Linked DNA regions of Homo sapiens: all the other regions are linked to region 4. Evidence: promoter capture Hi-C in 16 types of primary human blood cells and fetal thymus (Javierre and others, 2016). All regions are on one chromosome and are shown on one strand. The core of a region is centred on a gene start or on the middle of the fragment in contact, and the rest is flanking DNA. Distances in the headings are between cores, read along the strand shown.

Evidence for each region. Contacts are between HindIII fragments. The CHiCAGO score rates a contact against its expected background, and 5 or more counts as called.
Region 1: a contact is called between a fragment that was not itself captured here and the fragment with the promoter of BMAL1 in region 4, in 1 of 17 cell types (M2 macrophages). The highest score is 5.2, in M2 macrophages.
Region 2: the fragment with the promoter of COPB1 here is called in contact with the fragment with the promoter of BMAL1 in region 4 in 1 of 17 cell types (fetal thymus); the score reaches 6.1 in fetal thymus.
Region 3: a fragment that was not itself captured here is called in contact with the fragment with the promoter of BMAL1 in region 4 in 1 of 17 cell types (fetal thymus); the score reaches 5.8 in fetal thymus.

The regions. Positions count from the first base shown.
Region 1 is chr11:12,126,657-12,129,935 of GRCh38, reverse strand. The region is part of intron 1 of MICAL2 (microtubule associated monooxygenase, calponin and LIM domain containing 2); the gene reads right to left. Among named protein-coding and RNA genes, the nearest start is that of MICAL2, 18 kb to the right of the region's middle. The HindIII fragment of the contact is 2,625 bases long and covers 447-3,071 here.
Region 2 is chr11:14,498,287-14,501,715 of GRCh38, reverse strand. It overlaps COPB1 (coat protein complex I subunit beta 1), which reads left to right and starts at 1,905. Exons shown (of 22, transcript NM_001144061.2): 1 at 1,905-2,009; 2 at 2,731-2,878. The coding sequence starts at 2,788. RefSeq lists an enhancer at 1,684-1,783. The HindIII fragment of the contact is 3,446 bases long and covers 1,062-3,429 here.
Region 3 is chr11:12,103,661-12,107,244 of GRCh38, reverse strand. No RefSeq gene overlaps it. Among named protein-coding and RNA genes, the nearest start is that of MICAL2, 5.1 kb to the left of the region's middle. RefSeq lists an enhancer at 3,009-3,509. The HindIII fragment of the contact is 5,348 bases long and covers 1-3,584 here.
Region 4 is chr11:13,276,540-13,279,781 of GRCh38, reverse strand. BMAL1 (basic helix-loop-helix ARNT like 1) reads right to left here and starts at 1,992. Exons shown (of 20, transcript NM_001297719.2): 1 at 1,859-1,992. RefSeq lists silencers at 982-1,321, 1,602-1,671, 1,742-2,391. The HindIII fragment of the contact is 3,232 bases long and covers 532-3,242 here.

The DNA.
Region 1 (3,279 bases), core at 510-3,009, 1.1 Mb after region 4:
GTTTGAGACCAGCCTGGGCAACACAGGGAGACCCTGTCTCAACTAAAAACAAAAGAAAAAATTAGCCAGGCATGGTGGCGTGCACCTGAAGTCCCAGCTACTCCAGAGGCAGAACTGGGAGGATCATCTGGGCCCAGGAGGTTGAGGCTGCAGTGAGCTATGATCCCACCACTGCTCTCCAGCCTGGGTGACAGAGTGAGACCCTGTCTCATATAAATAAATGAATCATAAAATTAAGAGAAAAACAAATGAAAAACTGTCCACGTAATTGAGGACCACCAAAAAAAAAAAAAAAAAAAGAAGAAGAAGAAGAAACAGAGTAGAATTGTATAAAGGTCGGCTGGTCACCACATGACCTCCTCCCAGTCCTCTTTAGGAAAAGGGCTAAGGGGGAAATGATGAATGGCTTTAGGGGAAGAGTCAATCTGAAACTCCAGAACAAAGCTTTCTGGGATAGGAAGGGGGGTGCGTGTTTCATTACCTTCCACTTGCACGTTTTGGAGCAAGTTATTCAACCCTGCAGAGCCTCAGTCTCCTGACCTGTTCAATGGGGACAGTACCCAGTAACCGCACAGGGTAACTGTGAAGACCAAATGAAATATGAATGGGAATGTGTTTGGCAAACTGTAAAGCACCTTTGGAAATATCAGACATTTTCCAAATCCTGAGAGGTGGGGTCTTCAGGTCAGAATATGTGGCTTGAAGGGTAAAAGAAAACCAAGAATCACTTCTTTTGGCCCAAGTCTCTATTGACAGCTTCTAGGACAAGGCACAAGTCTTCAGGGATTTTAGAAAGATGCTGATTGAATTCTATTCATGGTCTTGTAAAGGGGAGACCTACACCCACATCTATATAATAAGGCAAAACAGAATGTGTTACAGAATGATCCTGCAGAGAGGATGGACATTCTACCCTGACCTCAGAGATTAAGAAGGCACTTACAATAATACTATAATATAAAAATAATATAAGAATTGTTAACATAATAATAACTCTTTCAGAGTGCTTGCTATGGGCCAGGCACTGTTCTAAGTGTTGACATAGCTTCTCTGATATTCTCATAACAACCCTATGAAGCAAGTTTGCAGATGACAAAACTGAGGCACAAAGAAATTGACTTCTATCTTGGACTTACATGGCTGGTAAGTGCTGGAGCCAGGATTTGAACTTGTCAGGCTCTGCTCCTTTTGGGAAACCAAAATGGGTTTCAGATAGACTCTGAGAGGGTGGCTGAAAGGCTCTGATAAAGCCTGCAGGGCTGAGTCATTGAAGAAAGGTACTGTTTCACCCACAGTGTCTCCCACCCATGCTTTCCCCACTACATTCACACTGCCCCGATCTGTCCTGGAAATTGGCCATGCCTCTGCTCTCCCTGCACCTCTTTGTGGGTACCTAATACCAAGGGAGACTGATATGAGAACCTATATGTCAATGTTTACATTTACACAATGGAACACTCATGGATTAATCCCAGCTCTGCCATTTACCAGCTATGTGACCTTGTCAAGTCTTAGTCCAGGGCTTCTGCTTCCTCATCTGTAAGATGTGGTTAACACTTATTATCTTGGGCAGTTATTGCAAAGATGAAATGGGATGTGTCTAGTGCAGCACCTGGCATGTTGCAGTCTTGATAAACAACTGTTAAATAGGAAGACTTTACAAAGGATTTCCATTGCAAAATCATTTTCTTCAAGGTAAGATCTGGTGGTAACAGTAGTACTTTTAACTAGTATTCACCTGGTTTTCATCTGCCACTAACCTACACCCACAACATGGATGATCTCATTTAATCCTGAAAAGCGCCATTATTTTCTTCATTTGACTTGGCTTCAGGACAAGAAAGGATGTCCCTAACACATTAATTTTACACACACATACGTATATGCAGACAGAGGGACAGATAGTAGAGCAAGACAATATTTTTAGGCACTTATTATATGTCAGGTGCTAGTCTAAGTATTCTACATTCAGTAACCCACTTCATCCTCTTGAAAACGTGCCTGAAATGGTAAGTACCATTTTATCTCCATTTACAGATGTGGAGCTTGCAGCACAGTGAGGAAAGTGTCAAATGAGTAGACTTTTTTAGTCTACAGTGGTCATCTCCTCCTGAATCTCTGCTCCCCTGTCTCAGCCGCCAATATCCTATCCCCTACAAAGCCACTAGGGAGATCTCCCCACACATGTCACTCCTCTGCTCAAGAGCACTCAAAGACTCCCTACTGCCTAGTCAAAGACCCCCAACAGGTCGAAGAGGATCAACTGTGGGCTCAAGATCCCAGTAGGATCTGGCCTTGCCTCCTTCCCTGTGCTCCCAAAGTCCCAGTGACAGGGTGAGTCAGTGAAACCTTCTCTAACCACTCTGTTTAAAATTACAGCCCTCCCCGAGCTGCTCCCCTCTCCATGCAGCACACACCATCTCCTTCCCTGCTTTGATTTTCTCCACCATACCTCTCATCACCTGGCCTCCCACGCATTTAGCTCACTTGTTTATTGTCCCTCTCCCCTTCTGGGAATGTGGCAAGGGATGTTATCTTGTTTTGTTTTTTTCCCTGCTGCAACCCAGCACTGAGAGCAGTGCCTGCCACAGAGTAAGAGCTCATAAATACCTGCTGAATGAATGAATGAGCAGACATGTAAAATGCCTAAGAAGAAAATGTCCCCATAGAGCAATGGTGAAAGAATGGCTCCAGGAGGCTGGAGGCTAGAGATGCCTAGACTGAAATGTCCTGGAGCTAGACCCTTTCTTGCCTATCTTCCTGAGATTTACAAGAGTTCCCTGTGAGACCCTGGGCCTTCATCCTCCCATCCCTGTTCTGAAGTTAAACACACTCCAACTCAATCTCTCTCTCATTAAAGCCTCTTTGCATCTGTCCTAAACTCACCTGCCTAGCCTCATTTCCCGCTGCCCACCTTCAAAGCAGGCAATTCCCCATTTCTCTTGGCCTCAACACCCACTAGAGATGCTCTCTTCTTACTCCCAACTTATCCATCTGCACTGCAACTACCCATCAGGATCCAGATCAAATGCTGCTGCTGCCGCCACCTCTGCTCCCTCCTCCAGGAAGCTTTCCAGGCCCTCCCTAGCCCACAGAAAACACTCCCCACACCCACCGCTGCCTCCTTCAGGCAGATGGACATTAGTCATGAACTACCTTGTGGTTTTTCTTCTATGATTGAGCTGAACTGTTGCGAAAATCTCCTGTTACTTAATTTTTTTTTTTTTTTTACACACATAAGCCTTGCTTTCCCAAGCCCACTGTAAATACTTTAGGAGG
Region 2 (3,429 bases), core at 656-3,155, 1.2 Mb before region 4:
AATATGGAAAAATATATGCACTGCCAATGACAATTGTAGGTTCAGATCTAACTAAAGTAATATGTAAAACATTACATTTTCTTGCCTTTTCATATTTAGAACTTAATGACTTGGGGTCATGAGAAACCTCAAAGTTATTCTGTAACAGAATGAACCTCTGGGGCAAATGAAGTCTGTACGGTTTAAGTCCTACACCATGATGGCCCTAAACTGAGCTTTCTTACTGTAAATCTAGTTTTTATACCTTTTTTGGCCTCATTTCTTGCTGACAGATTGTCACTTTTTGGTAAGTTAAGTGGGCTTGGAAACCAGATAACTGCATTTGTAAAACTTCCATGTTAAAAACGAATACACAGAAAAGGAACAAACTGTTGTACACACACCCGGGATTGATCTCAGGGGAATTATGCTCAGTAAAAAAATCCAATCTCAAAAGATTACATTGTATAATTCCATTTATATAACATTGAGATGATAAAAATCATAGAGAATTATTAGTGGTTGCCACAGGTTAGTGTGGGAGGTGGCTATGGCTATCAAAGGACAGCATGAGAATCCTTGTGATAGAACTGTTCTGTCTCGACTGTGTTGGTGATTACACACATATAAGCATGATAAAATTGTCTACAAGTGAATATAAAAACGAGTACATGTAAAACTAGTGAAGTCTGAACAAGGCTGGGTGAATTATGTCTGTCAATTTCCTGAAATTGATATTGTACTATAACTATGCAAGATGTTACCATTGGGAGAAACTAGGTAAAGAGTATATGGGATCTCTGTATTCATGTCACTCTACCATTAAGATTAAATATTAAAAAAAATGAATGCACAGAATCAGAGAGGCACTCTTAAAGTGCTGTCAACACATGGCCTTTGAATACAATTTTGGGTGCTCAAAGAATTTGTAGATTGCTTGATGGTTCTAAAAAGAGAAAGCTCAAAAGAGCTAGATCCTACATAAATGAGGTACTATTGGTGTTCCATCTTCCTGAGATGAACCTGTTAACTAGGGCAGTTGCCGTCAGATCTGTTTTTATTCGCAGTATTTTGCTTAAGCTTTAAGATATTTTGTTATTAATAATTGGCCATAAAACCCTTTTGTGGGCAGAGGGAGGTGTAGGGGCGGGGCGTGCTATGGAACTTCAAATGGGCAAAACCGAAAGTACTATGGCTGATTGCAGCTGTAACAGGTCTTTGGAGATACGTAAAATCCTTTAAAACAGTGACTGTCTCCCTTTATGCATAAAAATTTTTTCTAATCTACTGGGTGCTCAGAAAGGATCACGGAAAGAGGCCATTATTAAATAAAAAGCAGAAATTATACCAATGTGACTTTGGATTTTCAAATAACTCCAGCCCTACCTGCAGAGAGGCAGATTCAAACTACTAGCGATGTTAAGAACTGAAATGGATTTTAATCTAGTGATAATTAATAAAATAACTGAATTACCTTCCCAATAGTATTAGTTACTTTCCCAGTTTATTAGGGTGTGGACAAGAAAAAGGATTACTGGGTTTCCACTTTCTAGTCCAGAGCTCTTTTTCACGGGAACAGAGCCCTGTAAAAGTTTCCCTCTCTCCAAGCACTTTCTCCCCTTGACTGTTCCTGAAGAAGGAACGATTTCCAGTTAGCGTTTAAATTAGCATAGTGCTTAACTCAGAGCTTGGCTTGCAGGGAAAACTAGAAAATACGTGGTTTCATTGCTCTGCGGCCTAATCAAACCCTGGACAAGAGAAGAGGAAGAAAATAGGATATACTTGCAGCGCGCAAGCGCTGCACAAAGAAAGCATGTCCTCTCTGAGTCGCCGTAGGTGCTAGGTGGCTGTGGCTTCGGTCGTTACCCCACCCCCTTCCACGTCAGCCAAGGACTCTGGAGCCGCCGCCGCCGCTGCTGCGGTTCATAGCCGGAGTAGACGGAGCCGCAGTAGACGGATCCGCGGCTGCACCAAACCACTGCCCCTCGGAGCCTGGTAGTGGGCCACAAGCCCCCAGTCCCAGAGGCGTGGTGGGTCGGGCAGAGTCGGAAGAACTGGCTTTCTAGCTGGAAGATGCGGAAGGGGAGCGACTAGGCCGCTTGCGTCTGGGCCTGGCAGAAGGGACCGGGTGGGGGTACGGGTGGGGGTGCGGGTCGGGGTGGGGGCGGAGGGCTAGGAAGCTCCGGGTCGGACGCTCCATCCCGTCCTTTGTATTGGCCGGGGGTCTTTTCCCTCCCAAGACCCCTAGGCGTACCCTTTCAGGCCTAGGGCTGCTTTGCTGGAGGAAGGGGAGGAGGAAGCGGGTGGGGCGAGGTGGGGGTGCAGCGCGTTGATTAAGGGACCCGCGGACATAGAGTCGGAACCCACCAAGGACCGCGATAAAGCGCTTTAGGGTTTTGGCAGAGTATTCAGGCACAAGGTCTCTTAACTTGAGCATGCAGATTGTGTGTTGTGTAAAAACCATACGGTCCATAACATTGTGGGGTGTGGCTGGGGGGACTGTCACTGTTCTGTGGGCCTTCATTCGGCTATACAGCATTCTCAAACACTGGACCGGGATGCGATGAGGGAGTGATAGATAATATACCTTATGCCAGAGCTGATAATGTGGTTTTTACTAGAATTTATTTTTATGGGAACACGATATAGATTGACCTGCCCTTTCTAATACTTTAAAAGGTCACTATAGGTACTTGTTTGTGGGTTTTTTTTTTTTAATTTGTAATGATATGTCTGTGTTTATTTTTCTAGATTTTCTGGCATCCTTAAATCTTGTGTCAAGGATTGGTTATAATATAACCAGAAACCATGACGGCGGCTGAGAACGTATGCTACACGTTAATTAACGTGCCAATGGATTCAGAACCACCATCTGAAATTAGCTTAAAAAATGATCTAGGTAAACTTCGATATTATTTTGAGAATGAAATGAAAAAAGAAAAAACAAAAATAAAAAACTCATATTTCATATTCCTTTATAATTAGAAATGCTTAATTTTTGTCTAAAGTTTTTCTAGGATCTCTTCGATAGACCTTTTATTAAAAATGCGAACTTCTTTAAATATTGGTTGTTTGAAATAGAACATCTCAGTTTATCTTAGTAAACCTAAAGAAATTGTAATAGTTTAGATATTCCTCAAAATGTCATAATTTTTGTAGACTTCAATATATTAATGTGGCTGATTATTTTCTCTAGGCAACAGGTTGAGGATGTGTATTGGAATATCTTAATTCCATCGTGCACTTAACTTCATGTTACTTAGCTTGTAAAACCAAAAGAACTTTGTTCTTTGGATTACCCACCCAAACAATTAGGTGAACACTGGAATAAACATGTATTTTCCAGAAAAGTTTACCTTTTCATTTTTTATGCATTTTTGCAAATAAGAAAACAACTATATTTCTGAACTTTTTGTAATGTTTAATTTTTGGGGGTACACAGTAGATGTA
Region 3 (3,584 bases), core at 354-2,853, 1.2 Mb after region 4:
ATCTCTACTAAAAATACAAAAATTAGCTGGGCATTGTGGTGTGCATCTGTAATCCCAGCTACTCAGGAGGCTGAGGCAGGAGAATCACTTGAATCCAGGAGGTGGAAGTTGCAGTGAGCCGAGATCGCACCACTGCACTCCAGCCTGTGCGACAAGAGCAAAACTCCATCTCAACAACAACAACAAAAAAAAAAAAAAAAAAAGAAAGAAAAGAAAAGGAAAGAAATGGAGGCCCAGAGATAGAAGGATGCTTCTGATGGTCACAGAGTGAGTGAATAAGTGTGTTCCAGGCATGCAATGTCCCTTTCTCACTCTTAGCATGACAGGCAAACTAACTCAATATCTTTATGAAGCAGGCTCAATAGTCTATATTTAATAGCCACCTCTTCCCCAGGCCACTTTTCCAGGATGCTGCTTGTGGAGGTTGTCTGGGAGATGCAGATGGCCACTTAGCACGAGAGGGAGGAAGAGAAGGAAGGCCCAGATTCATCCCTAAATATAGCTTCATCTCAGACGGAAGCAATGGCCTCCACAGCACTATGCATGCCTCCCCCTGAAAGAACCCAGCTGGTGCTCGCGGGCATCATCGTTTATCCACCTGATTGTGTTCAGAGGACTGTGGGGGTGGCAGTTCTGGCTTCCTTTTATTTCCAGCCTAGCAATATGCTTGAAGAGAGGTCAGAGTTGAACTAAGTGGACTCCTGATGGAGATTTTCTGTAATGAAGCCAGGGTGCCCCTCAAGATATTTGAATGGCAGAGAAGACAGTTGCACCGGGCTCTGGATCTCTTCCTGAAGGCCATAGATTCCAGAGAAGGGCAAAACAGTGAGTGTGGTTCTCACTGGCTTCCTCCCCAAGCTGCTATCAAAGTGCTTTGGTCTTTCGGAAGGAAGAGGAAGGCTGGTATCTAGACAGAGTCCAGTGACCTGGTTAAATGATGAGAAAGGGCTGATTGGCCCCGGGCACCTTGGGAGCTGTCCTTGGAGGACTTTCTAAGCCAGGAAGTGGAAACATTTGTATCTCCCACAGACAGACTCAGCAGTATGTGAGAAGCAAGATCCCTGGGGCCTTGTTCAAGCTCTTCATCATCTTTATAGTCCTCAGAACAAACCGCTTGTTCACGGATAAAACATCTAAAAGTTTTCAAGGTCACTAAAAACTCATCAGGCCTACCTCGCTTTAAGTGGCTTTTCCAGAGGTGGTTTAGAGAAAAATGGCACCTGTCTGGGACCTGCTGAAGTCAGTAATGCCCTCGGAGGCACCCCAGCACTTTGGTGAATGTGTGCACGTTGCCAGCAATGGTGAGAAAGTCAGTGCTGGAGAGCAAAGAGCTGTGGCTGCAGGCAGGAGGTGACATCCCAGCCAGATGTAGCAACCAGAGCAAACAGCGATGGAGTGGGTGTGCAGAAGAGAGGGGAAGAAACATAGGGTCATGTAAGTAGTCTAGCTTTAGCCCCAGATAGACTGGGGATTCACAGACAATTGTGAATTCCAGGGGCATAACATAATTCTGACCTCTAGAGATCAACTGATGCCACAAAACCCAGAGCACCCTCATGGCAGGCTGGGCCACACCTGCAGCCTGGGCAGATTCCTGTCCACATAAACCCGAAGCCCATTCCAGAACTGCTGTAACTGATGGATCTTGGGAGACAGCTTTCAACTTGTACTTCCAAACCCTTCCCAGAACAGCTGGCTAGAGGCAAGGACAGGAATATTCTTCTCTGTTCTAGTCCAAGGAGGGAACTCAATCAAGTTCATCTGTCTATCCACCCATCATGTGTCCACCCCAGAAATATGTACAGTGCAGTTAGGCTGGAGGTGTCATAGCCAAGCTATTAATAGGACAGACTCTGAAGTCAAGATGACTGGGTTTGAATCCCAGTTCTGCCACTTATTAACTGTGTGACCTTGAGCAAGGGAGTTAACCTCCTTGTGCAGCAGGTAGTAGGGGAATAGTAATGGGGAGATGCATGCTAGAACAGCGCCAGGCACATAATAAATCATATGTAAGGGTTTGTGAGTAAATATACTTGGTGATGATACCACTAAGGGTATGGAGAACTAGAGTCTGTAGGAGGCATCAATTCTGTAAGCAACTCCTGGTCAGGGACTTGCCTAGTCCCCAGCCTCAGACTTGTGTGTATGTTATAAAGGCAGGTACTATTTTCATCCACTCCTTAGAGATGAGAAAATGGGATTTTGGAGAAGTGAAATCACTGGCCCAGAGTCTCCTAGGGGCCAGCATCTGGCAAAATGAATCGAATTGGTGGACTTCCAAGCCCGTGCTCTTTACAATTCCCAATACTGCCTCCCCAGATCTATCTGGGGTGCTGGGGGACAGCGAGGAGGCTGAGGGGAGTGGGAAGACTTCACAGAGGTGGCATCCCTTCCACTGAGCCTTGAGAGATGAGTGGCAGGCAGATGGGAAGGAGTATGGTGAGCGCTCAGGACAGGCAGCAACTGAAACACGGAATCAGGGATGAGGGGCAGAGCCAGGAACTGCAAGAGATTCCTTCCTTCATTCATTGAGCAGATGCTGACTGAGTGCCTGCCATCTTCCATGCATTATTCTTAGTGGAGGGGATGCAGCAGGGAATAGAACATGAAAGTAATCCAAGATGAAGCTAGAGAGGTGGCAAGAACCACACAGGGGACTGTGGAAGCTAGTTGTTGTATGTGGAGGAGGGAATGAACTGGCCAGCTCCTCCATTCCTCCTTGTTTTGGTAACATCCCTGCCCTCCTGGCTACAGAACTGGACACAGTTCCCAGGCCTGGTGAAACATCAAGCCCCCATGGTGAACAGTCCAACAGCCAAGCGCCTGGTCCAAGCAGAATTCGTTAAGACCAGTGTGTAGATACACAGTGAGAGAGGCTCTCTTTCCATGAAACTTAGGGCTACCAAGAATTGTGTGCCAGGTGCAATGGAGGAAACCTGACCACAAGAAGAGAAAGAGAGAAAGAAACTCCTATAACTGAAGACTGCAGGGGTGAAAGCTCCAGCCACCTTACTCTGCAGTTGTCTCAGCTCTGCCCTCCTCTCTGTCAGCTTCTCTTCAGACTGGTTTTCCTCATGGTAGCAAGTGTCATTGCTCTCATTGCCACACGCTTCCTTATCCAAAAGAATATTTCTGGCCCAGCATTCCAAGCATGGTCCTGAGCTTCATCGGATTGGAGTGGGTCACATGCCCAGTTGAACTGGTGCCATAGCCAGAGGAATGGAATGTGCTGATTGTCCATGCCAGTCAAGGCCCCCTCCTAGAGCTGGGGTGGACTCAGCTTCCCTGAGACACCTGGGCTGCATGGGAGAGGGGGAACACCTGAGTGAACACTGAGAGCAGTTAGGAAGGGAGGAAGGACATGTATACATATGTCAGGTAGATCTAGCACAGGCAGTTGATTTCCATATATGCCACTGGCTTTCTAATGCAAATATCTCGGACTCTGCCTGAGGGTTCTCCCCTAGCCTCAGCAGTAAGCTCAGCCAATGCACAGGGCAGACCAGAAATACAGGTGATTTAACACCACAGGGAGCAACCTTCAACACAGTGTGGGCAAGGGTTTGTGGATATATACCCCCAAT
Region 4 (3,242 bases), core at 743-3,242:
TCAGATGATACAGGCAATTTCAAATCCTGTCCAGGAAATTTCCAAACCTTCTAAATATGTTCTATAAGCTGCGTTAAAGACTTATCAGTAAAATGATCTGAGTAACAAAACATGGACTGAAAGACTGAATTTTGTATTTTCAAAAATATTTGGGAATTCCATTGATATGGAAATCAAATATAACACCAGCGAATTTTTTTAAGTCTTGCAAGCAGAGAGAGCATGATATTATTCAAAACTGCTCAGGAGCAGCAATGATTATTTTAAGCTCATGATTCAACGGGTACATTAATTAAAAACTCCACCAACCCAAATTCACAGATCCGGATATCAATGAGACCAGAAGAATTAAAATAATAGTTGTCATTTAATAATAGATTAAAGGGGTGAACAACAGCAGATGTCAGAAGGACAAATGACAAGCAAGCAGGTGTCGTGGGAAATGAATGCATCTAAGGGGCAGCTTTTATGGATGTTTAATAAAACGACGATGCTGGAAATACGGGTATACGGGTAGTGTCAAGAAAAGCTTGTTCACAAATACGGAATCTGATTTTTGGAAGCTGGGTGAGAAAACTTGGCTAATAATTCCTCGCTGAGGAGTAGCGGTGGAAGAAGGAAGAGACCGCAAGCGCCAAAGCGCCAAAACAACGCTAGGTGACCGGGAAGGGGCCGAGGCGGAGAGGGGAGAGGGGTCAGGAGGTGCGGGGTGCGCGGCGGCAGCGGGTCTCTCACCGGCCGGCGAGAACTTGACAGCAGGCGCCGGTGTCCAGCACTCCCCTTCCCTCCCCAGCTCCTGCCGGCGGGCACCTGAGCTCACCCCGCTGCCGGCTCTCGCGACCCCTCGGGGAGGCTAACATGCGCCCCACAAGGTCGACGTTCACCTCTACCTTCCTCGTCTTCTTCCAAGCAAACGGGAAGCTCTCTGGGATGTCAACGCCCGGCAATAGCCGAGCGGGAACCTTTTCTTCCCTGACATCTGTCAAACCCGGAGCTGGAGCCAGGCTCGCTGCGCCCTCCGCGGAGCTCTGGGACTCCAAGGCCGGCCCGCACCCGGGCTCCGGGCGACATCCCCAGGCCGACGCGCACCTGCCCGCAGACCCACGGGGCATCCTTGAGGGCCGCCCAGGACCTGGACGGCACAGGCCCCACGAAAGTTCGCAGGCTGGGGTCGGCCCCGTGCCGGCCGGGGATTCCCGGGTGCAGCGCCAGCCCTGGCTACAGGGCCGAAGGGGCGGGCGGACTTGGACTCCCCAAGCCCGACGGAGACGCCCTCCCCGCCCCCACCCAGCCTCGCGGGCTCCCGAAAGGGAAGTGAAGCGGGGAGGAAGGGCAGACGCGGCACCGTTCGCCCAACGCCCTTGAGGGGCAGCCACCAGGCATGGTCCCCTCGGGGATCCCCGAAGCTCCCGGGGACACATCTAGGAGTCCTCTTCGGCCGAGTCACTGCCCCCAAGGGCAGAGCTATCCCTTTAAGAGGCAGCTAGCTGCCCCCTCCCCCCGCCAGGTAGCGATGCCCGCGGAAGGGCGGTGGGTACTCCAGCGAACACTTTCCCGGCCCCTTTAAGGGCTCCTGCAGCACCTCTGCCTGCCCTAGCCCGCAGCGGCAGCCCCCGCGAGGAGGATGGGGGCGGACGGGCGCGGCGCCTTTAAGGGGCGCAGCCTCCCCACGGCCCGGGTGGGGGCAGGGAGCGGTCACGGGCCCTTTAAGGCCGGCAGCGGGCACGTCGGGCAGGGTTCTTCGGCGGCCGGGTTGCCCCCGGGGCGGCGGCAGGGGCGCAGCGCCCGCGAGGGTGCTAACGGCCCCCGACGGGGTGCGCGGGATCGCGTCGCTGGCCGCCGCCGGCCTGACACTCACCGTGGCTCGCCGGGAGCGCCCGCGCCCGCGCCCGCACTCGGATCCCGCGGCGGCGGCGGCGGTGAGTCCGGCGCGGGTAAACAGGCACCTCCGTCCCTGACCTACTTTCTGCCTTCCCTAAATGTCGCACCACTAACCTACTTTCCGACCAATCCGCTCCCCGCCGGCCCAGGCCCGGCCCCCCGCCCACCAATCGCTGTGCCCAACCCCCCTTCCCCGCCCACCAATGGAGGAGCCGCAGCGCCCGGATACCTGCCTCTTCCCGCCAGCCAATCCGAACGCCCGAAGGGAGCCGGTCCCGGCGGCCGCCCCCAGCCAATCCGCGCGCGGCTCGGCAGCCCGCTGGCCAGTTGTGTGGCGGCTAGAGAGGCCGCTGACCAATGGCGAGGCGGCGGGAGCCGGTTTACCTGCTACTTTCCTGCCACCAATCATTTGGCGCACAGGAGCGCACGCCCCGAGGAGAGGACCAATCCGCGCGCGCTCCCTGGGTTCCTCGCCCCTGCCCTCTCCCTTTCCCCTCAGGTCTCCCACTAGCCGCGGCCACTGCGGTGCCCAAGCCGCGCTCCTCGGGGTCGCCCGGGATGTCCCTCTTCTCTGGGTCCCCTGCCGGCTGGCGTTTGGCCGCCCGCCCTCACCCCTCCTCCTTCTTCTTCTCCCCTCCGGGCATTCCGACGAAAAGCAGCAGTTCCTGACTCCCTCTCTCCCTCCGGCTCCATCTAGGAAACCAATTTTAGGAACGTTGAGTGCCAGACCCTTCCTAAAATCCCTGGTTTGCCAAAGTCTCAACGAGAGAACGGATACTTAGTATTTCTAGAAGGCATTTCCACCCCGAGGACTGCAAGTGTTCTCACGTTCTTTGCGTTCATCATGACCTCCAAGTGTCCCACTGGAGCTGTCATTCCCGTAGTTCCAAAGAGAATACTCGAGCGCGGAGCGATTCCATTGCATTTCCTTCCAGTAGCCAGGTTTTGACCACTTACTGAAGAGTAGACACCAGCCCCGCGGCAGCGCTCTCTGCTGCAAAAAGCTGTCTACGGAGCAAGACGGAAGGAAACAGTTACAGAAAATAAAAATTTGATAACGACATGCGACTCGGTTGCTGAGAGGACAGAGAAAGTGACTTATTTTTGCATCTCAGGCACTTTGTAGAGGGCCTTTAGCACAAAGAACTCCCGGCTCTTCCAGATGTTAAACTCCCTGAATAGAAGGACAGCGTCTTCTTTTTCGTTATCCATCATGTCAGCTCTCCTTTAGCGCCTGCTGGGGTAGGGTGGAGTGGTGGGGGCGGGGCTGGCACCCAACAAGTGCACCATAAATATCTGTTGGCTGGATACATGAACAAATGGAATTAAATAAATTGGCCTAATTCTGTTACCCAGACTGG